Linked DNA regions of Homo sapiens: all the other regions are linked to region 2. Evidence: promoter capture Hi-C in 16 types of primary human blood cells and fetal thymus (Javierre and others, 2016). All regions are on one chromosome and are shown on one strand. The core of a region is centred on a gene start or on the middle of the fragment in contact, and the rest is flanking DNA. Distances in the headings are between cores, read along the strand shown.

Evidence for each region. The method cuts DNA at HindIII sites, captures the fragments that hold promoters and counts their contacts. A CHiCAGO score of 5 or more calls a contact.
Region 1: a contact is called between a fragment that was not itself captured here and the fragment with the promoter of PTGER2 in region 2, in 2 of 17 cell types (naive B cells and total B cells). The highest score is 6.6, in naive B cells.
Region 3: a fragment that was not itself captured here is called in contact with the fragment with the promoter of PTGER2 in region 2 in 1 of 17 cell types (erythroblasts); the score reaches 7.7 in erythroblasts.

What each region holds. Positions count from the first base shown.
Region 1 is chr14:53,055,135-53,059,676 of GRCh38, forward strand. It overlaps DDHD1 (DDHD domain containing 1), which reads right to left. Exons shown (of 13, transcript NM_001160148.2): 9 at 3,343-3,492; 10 at 526-778. Among named protein-coding and RNA genes, the nearest start is that of DDHD1, 96 kb to the right of the region's middle. The HindIII fragment of the contact is 4,563 bases long and covers 667-4,542 here.
Region 2 is chr14:52,311,872-52,316,372 of GRCh38, forward strand. It overlaps PTGER2 (prostaglandin E receptor 2), which reads left to right and starts at 2,441. Exons shown (of 2, transcript NM_000956.4): 1 at 2,441-3,520. The coding sequence starts at 2,678. RefSeq lists enhancers at 1,671-2,231, 2,232-2,791, 3,026-3,175, 3,196-3,335 and a silencer at 2,396-2,505. The HindIII fragment of the contact is 17,361 bases long and covers 1-4,501 here.
Region 3 is chr14:53,306,561-53,311,493 of GRCh38, forward strand. No RefSeq gene overlaps it. Among named protein-coding and RNA genes, the nearest start is that of DDHD1-DT, 160 kb to the left of the region's middle. The HindIII fragment of the contact is 2,546 bases long and covers 468-3,013 here.

The sequences.
Region 1 (4,542 bases), core at 1,698-4,197, 740 kb after region 2:
ATGGACAGATTCAAATACCACATAATCGAGTTCCAGTGATACAGCAAACATTGTGCCAGTACTGGAGATCATTCAAAGAAAAATTAAACATCCTTGTTGCCCTCAGGAATCACACAGTTTGAGAGACTTTTAGAATAGATCAGAGAACTGGTTGACAGGGAGCACCCTCTGACACAAGTGCTTTCTCATTTCACAGATGAGCAAGTAGAGCATTAAAAACTATATTATTTACTCAAGATCTCACAGCAAGTGGTAGGACCAAGATTAAAATGAGGGACTTGATTCTCATAACAGCTTTTTCTGGTCCATCCAGCTATCTTATATTCTAAAACTATAAGATCTGATCTAATCAGAGAACTTTAGAGCTTTTTGGGCCTCAAATATGAACATTGGGAGGGTAGTTAATTCTAGACACAGGGATTAACTGCTGGGAGTTTCCTAATACATAGAATACTTCTAGTCCCCCAAACTTATGTCTAGGAAAGTGCTTATATGCATAGATAAGGAATACATAAGAGAAATTACCTAATATGCTTGCTTTGCCTATATTTGTTATAGATTCTCCATAGTGTCGGCGGGACAAAACTGGTGAGGTCACAGGGCTTGGTATGGTTGAAATGCCTTCATTCTCTGAAACTGAGGTAGGTTCTTTAGCTGGGTTGAGAAAGCTTGGCTTCATATGTTCATAAGGTAAAGGATTTGAAGTATTGTACCAGTGGATCTGGACAGGTGAAATGTTGCTGTAGTGTTTCAGTATTAATGGTTCTAATCTATAAGCCTTGATTTAAAAAAAAAAATTCAAAGAAACACAGTGTTAAATCACAATGCTTGGATTTTAGTAAACTGTTCTTACTCTACTGCATGTTAAGTAAACCTCCGAGAAGGAATTTAATTAAAAAACAATAGCTATTTCAAACATGTATTTCTATTTGTTCACTGTTAATATGCACTTGATCTAATGATGAGATTATGAAAAACAGTCTAGGCTAATAGTGTCTATCAATTAGTTTTTCAGAGAAATATTTTTATTATGTTCTGATATGTAACAATTAGATTTATTTTAGTCTTAGGAGCAAAGTTGAAGTAGTAGATGGTAATCCTGGGAAACAGCAAATAAGGCCAATTTTTAATATTTTAGGAGCTCTATTTAAGCTCTGTTTTAAAATAGATTGATACAGTAACAGCATAAATCAGATGCCAGCATAAGAGCATCTGTCTGATGTGAAGTAGCAATGAGACAGCAGAAAAGGCAATGGATACGGCATCAGAATCCCCCAAATTCATATTCTGGTTTCTATCACTTATTTTTTAATTTACATTTTTAGAAAATTTTATTTTTTAAGATGGAGATGGGGTCTCGCCTTGGTGCCCAGGCTGGTCTCAAACTCCTGGGCTCAGGCAATCCTCCCACCTCAGCCTCCCAAAGGGTTGGGATAATAGAGAGCCACTGCGCCCAGCCTCTGTCACTTATTAATTGCATGATGCTTGTTAAGTCACTAGGTCTCGGAGCCCTGAGTTTCCTGAGCTGTAGAAAGGAGGTAACACTTCCTCTCTTACAGAGATGTGAGAAAGAACAGATAACATTTGTAAAAACTGCCTTGCACCGTTCTGACGTAAACTATTTAACAAAGTATTAATTTTTTTAAAAATCACAGAAAAACTATAAAATGAATAATAAAAATTTAAGAGTTTGGAATCCTCCTTTAAAGTTACAACAAAGTTTAAGTTATACAAAGGACAGGGCTCAGAGCAGACCTATGAACTGAAATTCACTTTCAAGTTACGAGACAATGAATAAAATGAGTATATGTTAATGAAATGCTTATTGTCTAGCTGGGTGTATATATATTTTACTTAATCCTAACAATCCTAGAAGGCAAAATATTATCATCTACATCATACAGATAAGATACAATCTCAGAAATAACTTGCCCAGGATTGTGCAGTTTGTATTTGAATCTTATATTAAACTTCCAGTTCAGTGAAGTTAATATGGCAGTTGTAAGTCTTTAACATATGAGAGATTTTCTAAAATTCGAATGGTTAGTCAATGTTATATTTATTTGGTACTAGCTAAAAGGATCCTTTAAAAGACTTTCCACAATTATATGAAGCTATTTTTTCAGAGAATAAATGCTATTTAAAATAGTTTAATATTTAGTTAAACCAGCCTTGTCCCAAAGAAGTATTAAGGGGGCATTTTTCTTGTCTGAAAATCTTACTTGGCATTACACTGTTTAACAGGATGCAAGGTTCTTGGAGTGCTTCCATTAAAAAAAATATTTACAGCATAAACATAATAGAGAATAGAAAAATCCAACATCTTACAATTCTATTAGGCTATAATAAAGTTTTATTTTGATGTTCAGTATTTGAATATTTTCATTTTTCAGAGAGTCTACAAAATACATTCCAATATTGTAGCATACTTTAGATTAAAAAAGTATTTAGAGCAGGATTTTTAAGATTTATGGTTTCTAGGTTACTGGTATTACAATTGGTTAAGGTTTGAAAGTCCAGTAGACTCCTGTCTCTTGTACTAACTGTCTGGGAATAATATTTTTACATTACACTCTTGTATTACAGGTGCAACATAACCAGACCATCTCTAAGGTACTTTATCTCATGAGCCCTAAATTAACCAAAACACACGTTTAATAATCAGATAAATGAAGTGTTTTCATTAATTCGATGGCACCTTGTAAGATGTCTTAGACAGATTTTTACTTTTTGGAGACAGAGTCTCGCTCTATTGCCCAGGCTGGAGTGCAGTGGCACAATCTCGGCTAACCGCAACCTCTGCCTCCCAGGTTCAAGCAATTCTATTGCCTCAGCCTCCCGAGTAGCTGGGATTACAGCCGTGCCCAGCTAATTTTTTGTATTTTAGTAGAGATGGAGTTTCACCATGTTGCCCAGGCTAGTCTCGAACTTGAGCTCAGGCAGTCTGCCTGCCTTGGCCTCCCAAAGTGCTGGGATTACAGGCATGAGCACCACGCCCGGCTTTTTTCTTTTTGTTTGAGATGGAGTCTCACTACTCTGTCACCCAAGCTGGAGTGCAGTGGCATGATCTTGGCTCAGTCCAACCTCCACCTCCCAGGTTCAAGTGATTCTCCTGCCTTACAGGCACCCACTACCACGCCCAGCTAATTTTTGTATTTTTAGTAGAGATGAGGTTTCACCACATTGGTCAGGCTGGTCTTGAACTCCTGACCTCAGATGATGCGCCCGCCTCAGCCTCCCAAAGTGCTGGGATTACAAGCGTGAGCCACTGTGCCCAGCTGATAGATTCTTTTTAGGAACAATTTGACATTGAGAAAAAAAAGAGTCTATATTGCAACTCACCACTGGATCTGTAGGATGAAAAATATTTAGTAACCGGTTACAAATCTCTCTAGGCAAAATATGGTCTTGACTTCCAGTATTTCCTGGGCGGATGCCACGCAACGCCAAGAAAACTGCTAATGGGGATCCCATACAGAAGAAATTCTCAACCTAAAATGATAAAGTCATCTTAAAGTTTAAAAATGGTGAAGTGTTATCTTTCAACAAAATTTGGGCATAACGTAATATATGGCAAAATACAAATAATAAAATATCTTTGAGTATATTCGTTTTTAATAAGAGTTATCCAGATGGGCTCTGCCAACCATTAACCATTCTAGAATAATCTATTTCCATGAGATACTTCATTATCTTTAAATCTAATACAAGTTGAATAAAAGGAAGATAAGGATCATTTTCTTATATATTTGTATACACAAATCAAATATTTATTGAGGTACTACTTTGTGTGAAGTAATACACTCGGTGCTGTGATAGATATAAAGACCAGTAAGACACAGCTTCTGCACTCAAAATTTACAGTCCTGTGGGGAAAGCAGAATAAAATACGTGCATAACAGAGGGAAATAATGCTTTAAGAGAGTGAAAAAAATAATTCCAACTTTGAAGGCTTTACAGAGGAGGTAGCATATGCATTGGCCAGTAAAAGACGAGAAAGGTTTCTACAGCTGGGGTTGGATATTGGTGCTGGAAAGAATAACATTCCAGGCTGATAGAACCAAATGAACTAAAGCCAAGGTGGGAAATAACTTGGTTTATTTTATTTCATTTATTTATTTATTTTTTGAGACCGAGTCTCGCTCTGTCACCCAGGCTGGAGTGCAGTAGTGCGATCTCAGCTCACTGCAAGCTCCGCCTCCTGGGTTCACGCTATTCTCCTGCCTCAGCCTCCTGAGTAGCTGGAACTACAGGCGCCCGCCACCACGCCCAGCTAATTTTTTTGTATTTTTAGTAGAGATGGGCTTTTACTGTGTTAGTCAGGATAGTCTCGATCTCCTGACCTCGTGATCCGCCCACCTTAGCCTCCCAAAGTGCTGGGATTACAGGTGTGAGCCACCGTGCCCAGCCATAACCTGGTTTATTTTTGAGAATAAAAATAGTCTGATAGGCTGGGTGCGGTGGCCCACGCCTGTAATCCCAGCACTTTGGGAGGCCGTGGCGGGCGGATCACGAGGTCAGGAGTTCGAGACCAGCCTGGCC
Region 2 (4,501 bases), core at 1,191-3,690:
GGGAACACAGCAAACTGCTAAACCAAACACACACACACACACACACACACACACACACACACATATGTATGTATTCTGTCCAAATGCTGGAAGCAATTAAAAGGAGTAATTTGAACAAGCAATGCTGAGCAGCACAGTAATTAATAGGATACTGGCCTCCCAAGATTTATAGGGCCCACTCTAGTCTTCCTCTTGTCACATACCTTACCACAGGTGAGACACCCTCAGGGCACTATTCACCCAGACCCCATTACCCCTCCATTCTAGACCACCTTCCAGGTACCTGAGATCATGAAATTTCCTGCTCAAATGTTGGTCCCATAACTCGCTTCCAGGGCTTGATCAGGCATCTTCCCTAGGTCCATCCAATCAAGGGTCATTTGCATGTTTGAGATGCATATTCCCAGGACCAAGGTGGCTTTGGGGAGAGAGCTTGGTTATCAACAACTATAGTGTCCACATATTGAACTATACTGTCCACATATTGAACTATACTCTCCACATATTTCTGTGCAAGACTCCTTGTGGTGCAAGACTGAGTCAGGGGTTAGGAAGACAAGGGGGCAGGGGCCTGGGGGAGGATCTTCAACTGCACTCTTGCTCTCGTATTCACAAAAACCAGGGGCCGGCCTGCCACCAGGTACCCATCCAAAGAAAAGCTAGAGACAAATATATAGGAAAGGTTAAATAGTAGGTTTTTGTTGTGAGGGGCCTTATGAAAATTAAAAAGGTATAAAAATATTCGGAAAATAAGCACTGTGCAAATTCAGTGAATCTAAAATCCCTTATTTAATAGTAAAACTGCAGTGCAGAATTATGCTATAAATCATAGTGTTTTCCTATTAAGAAATACTTCTGATTTAAGTTTGATGTTTCCCCATTGCTTGGGGTGAGATGGGGGAATGTTGGAGTAGGGGAATAGTCAGAGATGGATGGCAAAGATTGGTAATAAGTTGTTACTGACCTGCAGAGTTTACAGCTTGAAAGAAAAACTGTAGGAGTTAAGATCCTCTTTCCTAGGAATCCATGCCATGAGAAGTTTAGGGATTGAAGTAGTGCCTGCTGACATGTGAAAACCGGCCTGTAAACTTTGCAAGCGATCCAGTAAATTATGCTTGTTCTAGTGGGAACCACCCCCCCCAACTCCGCATTCCAATCCCCAGGCCAGAATCATCAAAGTTGGCAAAAAATATTCATGGAGAGTAAGCAGGCTGTAGCAAGATAGGCTCTTCAGCAGGCAATCTTTGCTTCCTCCCACGTTATGACTGTCTTTCTTGCCAGTTCCCTAGGCAGATCAGACCCTTCACTTCCCAGTTGGCCTCCCTTCCCCAAGTGAATGTGACTTCTTACAGAACACAATTACCTATGTTGTCTGCCAAACTGGATTTTGTTTTGTTTTGTTTTGTGTTAAATATCAGCCCATTTTCACGACTCTGCAATTATGACAATATGTGGTAGGAAACCATTACTGTCAGCTCCAGTCTGAAACTGGCCACTTACCAATACACTTTGCCAGGAACAAGTCTTTCTGGATGGATACTACGTGGTTAACAACATGTAAAGATAAACGGCTAAACAAAATATCAACATTTTCTTACAAGGCTCAGCTTAAGGACAGAACAGTGATGTGCAATGGTTTTCATGTTGTATCCACAAACACAATTCTGTATAAGACACACTCCTCTTTTTTTAATGGTTGCTTAAACAAGTGGTTATCCGTTATGCTGTTGACATAGGAAACGGTGAAATGCTAGTAACCGAATCAAAGCGGCAGTGCAACAGGCCGCTCGGTGGTGCGCATTGTGTGGTTTGGTTCCTTGGATGGACACACTTGCTTTACGCTTCATCCCAATTTTTGTCCCAACCTCTTAGTGTATCTTCCTGGGAATAGTAAAAACAAAGCAAAACATTCTGGTCTTACTTCAAGCTGCCTTTGCACTGTTATTCCCTTGTTCCGCTCATTTCACGGGATTGGGTTCTCCTAACTTCATTGTTTGGTGAGTTGCTTTGCTTTGCTCGTTGCCCCGATCTTCTGTGTATTCTGCGCAGACCCCGCAAGTGCTCCTGCACTCCCTCCCAGCCCTCTGCTGGGGCTTAACGCTTCCCAGCCGAGGTCAGACTGCCGTGCGCTTCGAGTACCGGACCCCGAGGAAGCGAGAAACGCCGCTCCCGCCGGTCGCGGGCAGCTTCAGTACACCGGCAACACGCGCGCCTCTGCCCAGTGCCGCGCCCAGCGGGTGCTCAGACTCCTTCTCTCCCTCCCCGCCGGCGCGCCCCAGGGACTCGGAACGCCCCCGCGAGTGTGACGCGTCCTGCCTCCCCTGCAGCTCGCGGACACTCGCACTTGCAAGGCCTGGCCAGCACTCTTGGGCCCGCCCCCCGACAGTGCGGGGGCGGAGACGACGGCTCCCCTAGGCTCTGGCTCCCGGCCTTGGCCGGCGCGGGTAGGCGCGGGAGCCTCGAGCGCCGCTCGGATGCAGCAGCCGAGCCGCCACTCGGCGCGCGGCGGGAGACCCAGGGCAAGCCGCCGTCGGCGCGCTGGGTGCGGGAAGGGGGCTCTGGATTTCGGTCCCTCCCCTTTTTCCTCTGAGTCTCGGAACGCTCCGGCTCTCAGACCCTCTTCCTCCCAGGTAAAGGCCGGGAGAGGAGGGCGCATCTCTTTTCCAGGCACCCCACCATGGGCAATGCCTCCAATGACTCCCAGTCTGAGGACTGCGAGACGCGACAGTGGCTTCCCCCAGGCGAAAGCCCAGCCATCAGCTCCGTCATGTTCTCGGCCGGGGTGCTGGGGAACCTCATAGCACTGGCGCTGCTGGCGCGCCGCTGGCGGGGGGACGTGGGGTGCAGCGCCGGCCGCAGGAGCTCCCTCTCCTTGTTCCACGTGCTGGTGACCGAGCTGGTGTTCACCGACCTGCTCGGGACCTGCCTCATCAGCCCAGTGGTACTGGCTTCGTACGCGCGGAACCAGACCCTGGTGGCACTGGCGCCCGAGAGCCGCGCGTGCACCTACTTCGCTTTCGCCATGACCTTCTTCAGCCTGGCCACGATGCTCATGCTCTTCGCCATGGCCCTGGAGCGCTACCTCTCGATCGGGCACCCCTACTTCTACCAGCGCCGCGTCTCGCGCTCCGGGGGCCTGGCCGTGCTGCCTGTCATCTATGCAGTCTCCCTGCTCTTCTGCTCGCTGCCGCTGCTGGACTATGGGCAGTACGTCCAGTACTGCCCCGGGACCTGGTGCTTCATCCGGCACGGGCGGACCGCTTACCTGCAGCTGTACGCCACCCTGCTGCTGCTTCTCATTGTCTCGGTGCTCGCCTGCAACTTCAGTGTCATTCTCAACCTCATCCGCATGCACCGCCGAAGCCGGAGAAGCCGCTGCGGACCTTCCCTGGGCAGTGGCCGGGGCGGCCCCGGGGCCCGCAGGAGAGGGGAAAGGGTGTCCATGGCGGAGGAGACGGACCACCTCATTCTCCTGGCTATCATGACCATCACCTTCGCCGTCTGCTCCTTGCCTTTCACGGTAAGTCACTCCCTACGTTTCCACAGCCCGGCTCTGCTCAGCCTTCTCATGCTCTCCCCTGACGCCTCCACCCTTTCCACCGCCCTACAAACTTTTTGCAACTTGTAAAAATATGTCCTAATTTGTAAAGATCTGTAGCCTTCCCCACTAGTTTCCCCTCCTCTTTAGCCCACTTCCTTATCCTGGCTTATGGGCGTTGCTAGGCTAGAGTTTCTTATACAATAATACAGACCGTCCGAAAGGGAGTCCTGGGCCTCAGCTAAGCTAGCCAATCTCCTCATCCTAGCCCTGGGCAGTGTCCCTTTCTCGCTGTTGCCTATCTTGGCTTAGTAATTGAGAAAGAGGCAGCCCCTTCCACCTTAGGATGGCTGTCACTGTTCCAGCCTGACGACCTGGAGCTGCAGTTTGCTGCCCTGTACCTCTCATCCACTGGTGCTGGTTCTCCATGCTTGCCTTCTGTTCCTGCCAGGGCAAAATGTAGTACCCAACCCATAGCATTCCAGCTGCCATTGAAAATGGTCCCAGATGAGAAGGGTCCCTGAAGCAGAAGTTTAGAGCATTTGTTATTTGTCCTAAAAGTCCAACAAACATCTAGTTTATAGGTTTCCCAATTTATATATTTGAATGTAACTCTTTGTGGCCATGAAAGTTTATAAAACCATAATGATAACTAGAGGAAATACTTGGAGGAACATCTTGCTAAGCATTTGTAATATCTTGCAAAACACGCTCTTAATGTCACTGTCAGAAATACACACAGGTGTCCTTCAGCTTACAGTTATGCACTTGATGAGCACAAAGCCACAGGCAGGAATGGCTGGTCCCTCTCAGGAAGGGAAGAGTGGGGCTACCTGGGGAACTGAAGGACAAGAGACCAAGTCCTGGCATCGTGCTGCCTTGATTTGGGGCAACTTTAGCAGTTATTTGATGCTAACTAACTGCTAAATGATATGAGGCTGTGAGTTCAAGTCTCCTCAAGTG
Region 3 (4,933 bases), core at 491-2,990, 990 kb after region 2:
GTGGTTGTTTCCGATTTGGCCTTGAAAGCCTTGGCATGTCGCCGTGCTCTGAGTGGGAGCCTCGCTGCCTCCAGCTTGGGTTTCTCAGTTTTGGCAGGGCTTTCCTTCCCACTGATGGAAGATTTACAGAGGAAAAAAAAATCATTATGTCTGAAATTCTGCCAGGATACATCAGCGTATTTCCAGGCTGCCATCTACCGTGTAACTCTCTGAAGATTTAATATGAAAATTAAAAAAAAAATTGCAGTGCACCTGCTCCTAAGGAAAACTACCTTGTCGTAGGATCGCATGCTTTTATTAAATTAGAGAATTTTAAATTGTATTTATGAGGATGTACAACTTGGGTTTCTTCCCTTAGGCTTCCTGGTCTCTGTGTTAAGTACAACTTGCCTCCAAGGTCACCCTCCCACCCTCCATAATTAGCCCAGAAATTTAACAGGGGCTTCTGGCAGCAGTTTTACCCAGCAAGCTTAGCGTAGCACTATTTGTGGTCAGATCCTGAGTGATTCAGCAGCTCTACTATCCTTAGAGTCTTGTCTCATCCCACACAAAGCCCTTTTCAGACCCAGTTTGACATTCTGATATTGTACCATGGCCCCGCAGGGTCAGGGAGTATAATGTGGTGATTCAATAGCTGTCTTGGAGCAGAAAAAGGGCATTCAGTGGTGGGTTAAAGGGCAGGCTGGTGACAAGGAGGGAGCAAGACAACATTCTACAGATTCTGCAGCTTTGCTTGGCTAGGAGCGAAACATCTCACCTCGAAAAATGGCTTCAGAGGCACAAAAATTATTTTCTTTGTTACTTAGCTTTTTAGTATCAGGACCTCAGACCTGAGTTGGTAGGGTATGACTAGATAGGAGAAGTTCCTCTCTGTGGGGTCCCTTCCTTGGCATACTGTTTTGTGGTAAATGGACTGAAACAGAATTCATTGAAGTCAACTGAAGTCACTGAGAATGTCTGCTTAAGTTGTTGAACATTACAGTTTTGGTGATATGCTTGGAAGCTAAAATCCATGACGGGCTTCTCCAAATTTTATCCTCTTATTTTCTTTGACTGGTTTCTGTACCTGGTCCAGTTTTAAAAGCTATTTGTGACCATGCTGGATGTCAGAATAAGAGAGCACTCAAGAGAAGTGAGATTATTGGGTTTGGTCCATGGGATATTTCATACCTAGAGTAGCCTTCCATTTCAGAGCTATTTTAAAGCTGGTTCCTCACTTTGTTGAGAGCAGTTGAGAGCAAACTGATGGATGGGGATGTGAGAAATAAGTTCTCCTGGACATGATTTGCAGTCTATACATATTTACCTTTTAGAGAAAAAGGAAATGACAGCCACAATTTGTCCTTCGCTGATTAACATGCCATTTCTCACTGTTTTGATAAGCAACAACAACAATAAATCCCACCTCTTGCCATATTTCTCAGACCTGGGAAACTTGTGTTAAGTCAAACTTTGTTCCAAGTTGACTGTCCCACTCTGAGGGCAACTTGAAGGGGTGACAATGCCTAGATGATCTGAGTTTTACTAATACTAAGCAAATTGTGGTTATTTGCTTCGGGCAGACTGAAAGGAAATTTATCCTTGCAACATTTATGAAGATCTTGTTTGCTAAGCAACTTAGTATTATCAAGGAAGGTGGGATTGTATTGTAGAGAACTGCTTTGCTAGATAGCAGGACATTTAGGATCTGGTTTCATTCTGGCACTCACCAACTGTGTGATCCTGGCTTTTATCTTTTTAGCCTAAGTTTCCTCATCTGGAAAGTGGTTGGCATGATGATTTCTGTAGTCCTTTTAAGTTTTAGAATACCATAATCTACCTTTGCAAGAAGAAGAGTCATTTTTGAGGAATATAGATAACATTCTAATTAATCTCGTATCTTCATTTAAATAGACTTTGAAATATTATGTGAGCAGTTAAAATATAGCCCCTATTCATCTATATGTCTATCTCTCATCTACCTCTTTTTTCATTCTTTTCATTCATCTGCCTACCTGTATATATAATATTGGGTTATCAAGTAGGCAGATTAAGCCTGTACTCAAGCAGTGGTACCAAAAATATTTTGGAAATAATTTGATATATGAAAAAACTTATCAAAATGGTCATTCTGAGAAAAATTACCTTTATTAATTTCTTTATACCGATTTTATGTGTTAACATTGTATATATGGGAAGTAGTAGTCTTGTAACCTTTTAGTTTTTAGGGCTTCTATAGGTATTTATTTATTTATTTATTTAATTAATTTCAATAGTTTTTTTTGGGGAACAGGTGGTGTTTGGTTGCATGGAAAAGTTCTTCAGTGGTGATTCTGAGATTTTGGTACACCTGAGCAGTGTACACTGCACCCTATTTGTAGTCTTTTATCCCTTACCCCCCTCCCACGCTTCACCCTGAGTCCCCAGAATCCATTATTTTATTCTTAGGTGTTTGGGTCCTCATAGCTTAGCTTCCACTTATAAATGAAAACATGTGACTTTTGGTTTTCCATTTCCGAGTTACTTCATTTAGAATAATGGTCTCCAACTCCATCCAGGTTGCTACAAATGCCATTATTTCATTCCTTTTTATGGCTCAGTAGTATTCCATGGTGTGTGTGTGTGTGTGTGTGTGTGTGTGTGTGTATGTATGTATCTCACATTTTCTTTATCCACTTGTTGGTTGCTTTCATGTTTTTGCAATTGAGAATTGTGCTGCTATAAACGTGTGTGCAAGTGTGTTTTTTCATATAATAACTTATTTTCCTCTGGGTAGATACCCAGTAGTGGGACTGCTGGATCAAATTGTAGTTCTACTTTTAGTTCTTTAAGGAATCCCCATACTATTTTCGATAGTGTTTGTACCAGTTTACATACCCACCAGAAGTATAAAAGTGTTGCCTTTTCACCACATCCGTGCCAACATCTGTTAACATTGTTTTGGTCAATCTTTCCCACTTGGAATGGCTGTATTTGCCCAATGCCTGTACCCCTGTTGTATCTAGGAAGTAATTAACATGCTTTTAATTTTACAAGCTTATAGGTGGAAGGGACTTGCCTTTTCTCAGATGAGACTTTTGACTGTGGACTTTTGAGTTAATGCTGAAATGAGTTAAGACTTTAGGGGACTGTTGGGAAGCCATCATTGGTCTTGAAATGTGAGGACATGAGATTTGGGAGGGGCCAGGGGTGAAATGATATGGTTTGGCTGTGTTGCCACCCAAATCTCATCTTGAATTCCCATGTGTTGTGGGAGGACCTGGTGGGAAGTAATTGAATCATGGGGTAGGTCTTTCACATGGGAAAGAGGTTTCCCTGCACAAGTTCTCTTTCCCTGCTGCCATCCATTTAAGACATGACTTGCTCCTCCTTGCCTTCCACCATGATTGTGAGGCCTACCCAGCCATGTGGAACTGTAGTCCATTAAACCTGTTTATTTTGTAAATTGCCCAGTCTCAGGTATGTCTTTATCAGCAGCATGGAAACAGACCAATACATCACCCTAATACCAAAACCAGGAAAGGACATAACAAAAAAAGGAAAACTACAGACCAATATCCCTGATAAAAACAGATGCAAAAATCCTCCACAAGATACTAGCTAACCAAATTCAACAGCATATCAAAAAGATAATACACCGTGATCAAGTGGGTTTCATACCAGGGATGGTTTAACATGTGCAAATCAATAAATGTGATACATCACATAAACAGAATTAAAAACAAAAATTATATGATCATCTCAACAGATGCAGAAAAAGCATTTGGCAAAATCCAGCATCGCTTTGTGATTAAAATCAGCAAAATCGGCATATAAGAAACATACCTTAAGGTAATAAAAGCCATCTAGGACAAACACACGGCCAACATTATACTGAATGGGGAAAAGTTGGAAGCATTCTTCTTGAGAACTGGAATAAGACAAGGATGCCCAGTTTCACCACTGCTATTCAACATTGTACTGGAAGTCCTAGCCAGAGCAATTAGACAAGAGAAACACATAAAGGACATCCAAATAGGTAAAGAGGAAGTGAAACTGTCACTGTTCTTTGATGACATAATTATATACCTAGAAAACCCCAAAGACTCACTCAAAAAGCTCCTAGGTCTGATATATGAATTCAATAAAGTTTCAGCATACAAAATCAATGTACACAAATCAGTAGCACCGCTATACACCAACAACGATCAAGCTGAGAATCAAATCAAGAACTCAACCCCTTTTACAACAGCTGTGAAGAAAAATAAAGTACTTAGGAATATACCTAACCAAAGAGGCAAAAGATGTCTACAAGGAAACCTACAAAACACTGCTGAAAGAAATCATAGATGACACAAACAAATGGAAACACATTCTCTCATGGATGGGTAGAATCAATATTGTGAAAATGGCCATACTGCCAAAAGCAATCTACAGATTCAATGCAATTTACATCAAAATGCCATCATCATTCTTCACAGAACTAGAAAAAACAATCCTAAAATTCATATGGAACCAAAAAAAAAAAAAAAAAAAAGACTGCACATGGCCAAAGCAAGACTAAGCAAAAAGAACAAATCTGGAGGCATCACATTAGCCAAATTCAAACTATACTACAAGGATATAGTTACCAAAACAGCATGGTACTGGTATAAAAGTAGGCATGTAGACCAATGGAACAGAATAGAAAACCCAGAAATAAAGCCAAATATTTATAGCCAACTGATCTTCAACAAAGCAAACAAAAACAAAGTGGGGAAAGTACACTGTATTCAACAAATGATGCTGGAATCATTGGCAAGCCACGTGTAGAAGAATGAAACTAGATCTTCACCTCTCACCTTATACAAAAATCAACTCAAGATGATCAAAGAGTTAAATCTAAGACCTGATACCATAAAAATTCTACAAGATAACATCAGAAAAACTCTTCTAGACATTGGCTTAGGCAAAGAGTTCATGACCAAGAACCCAA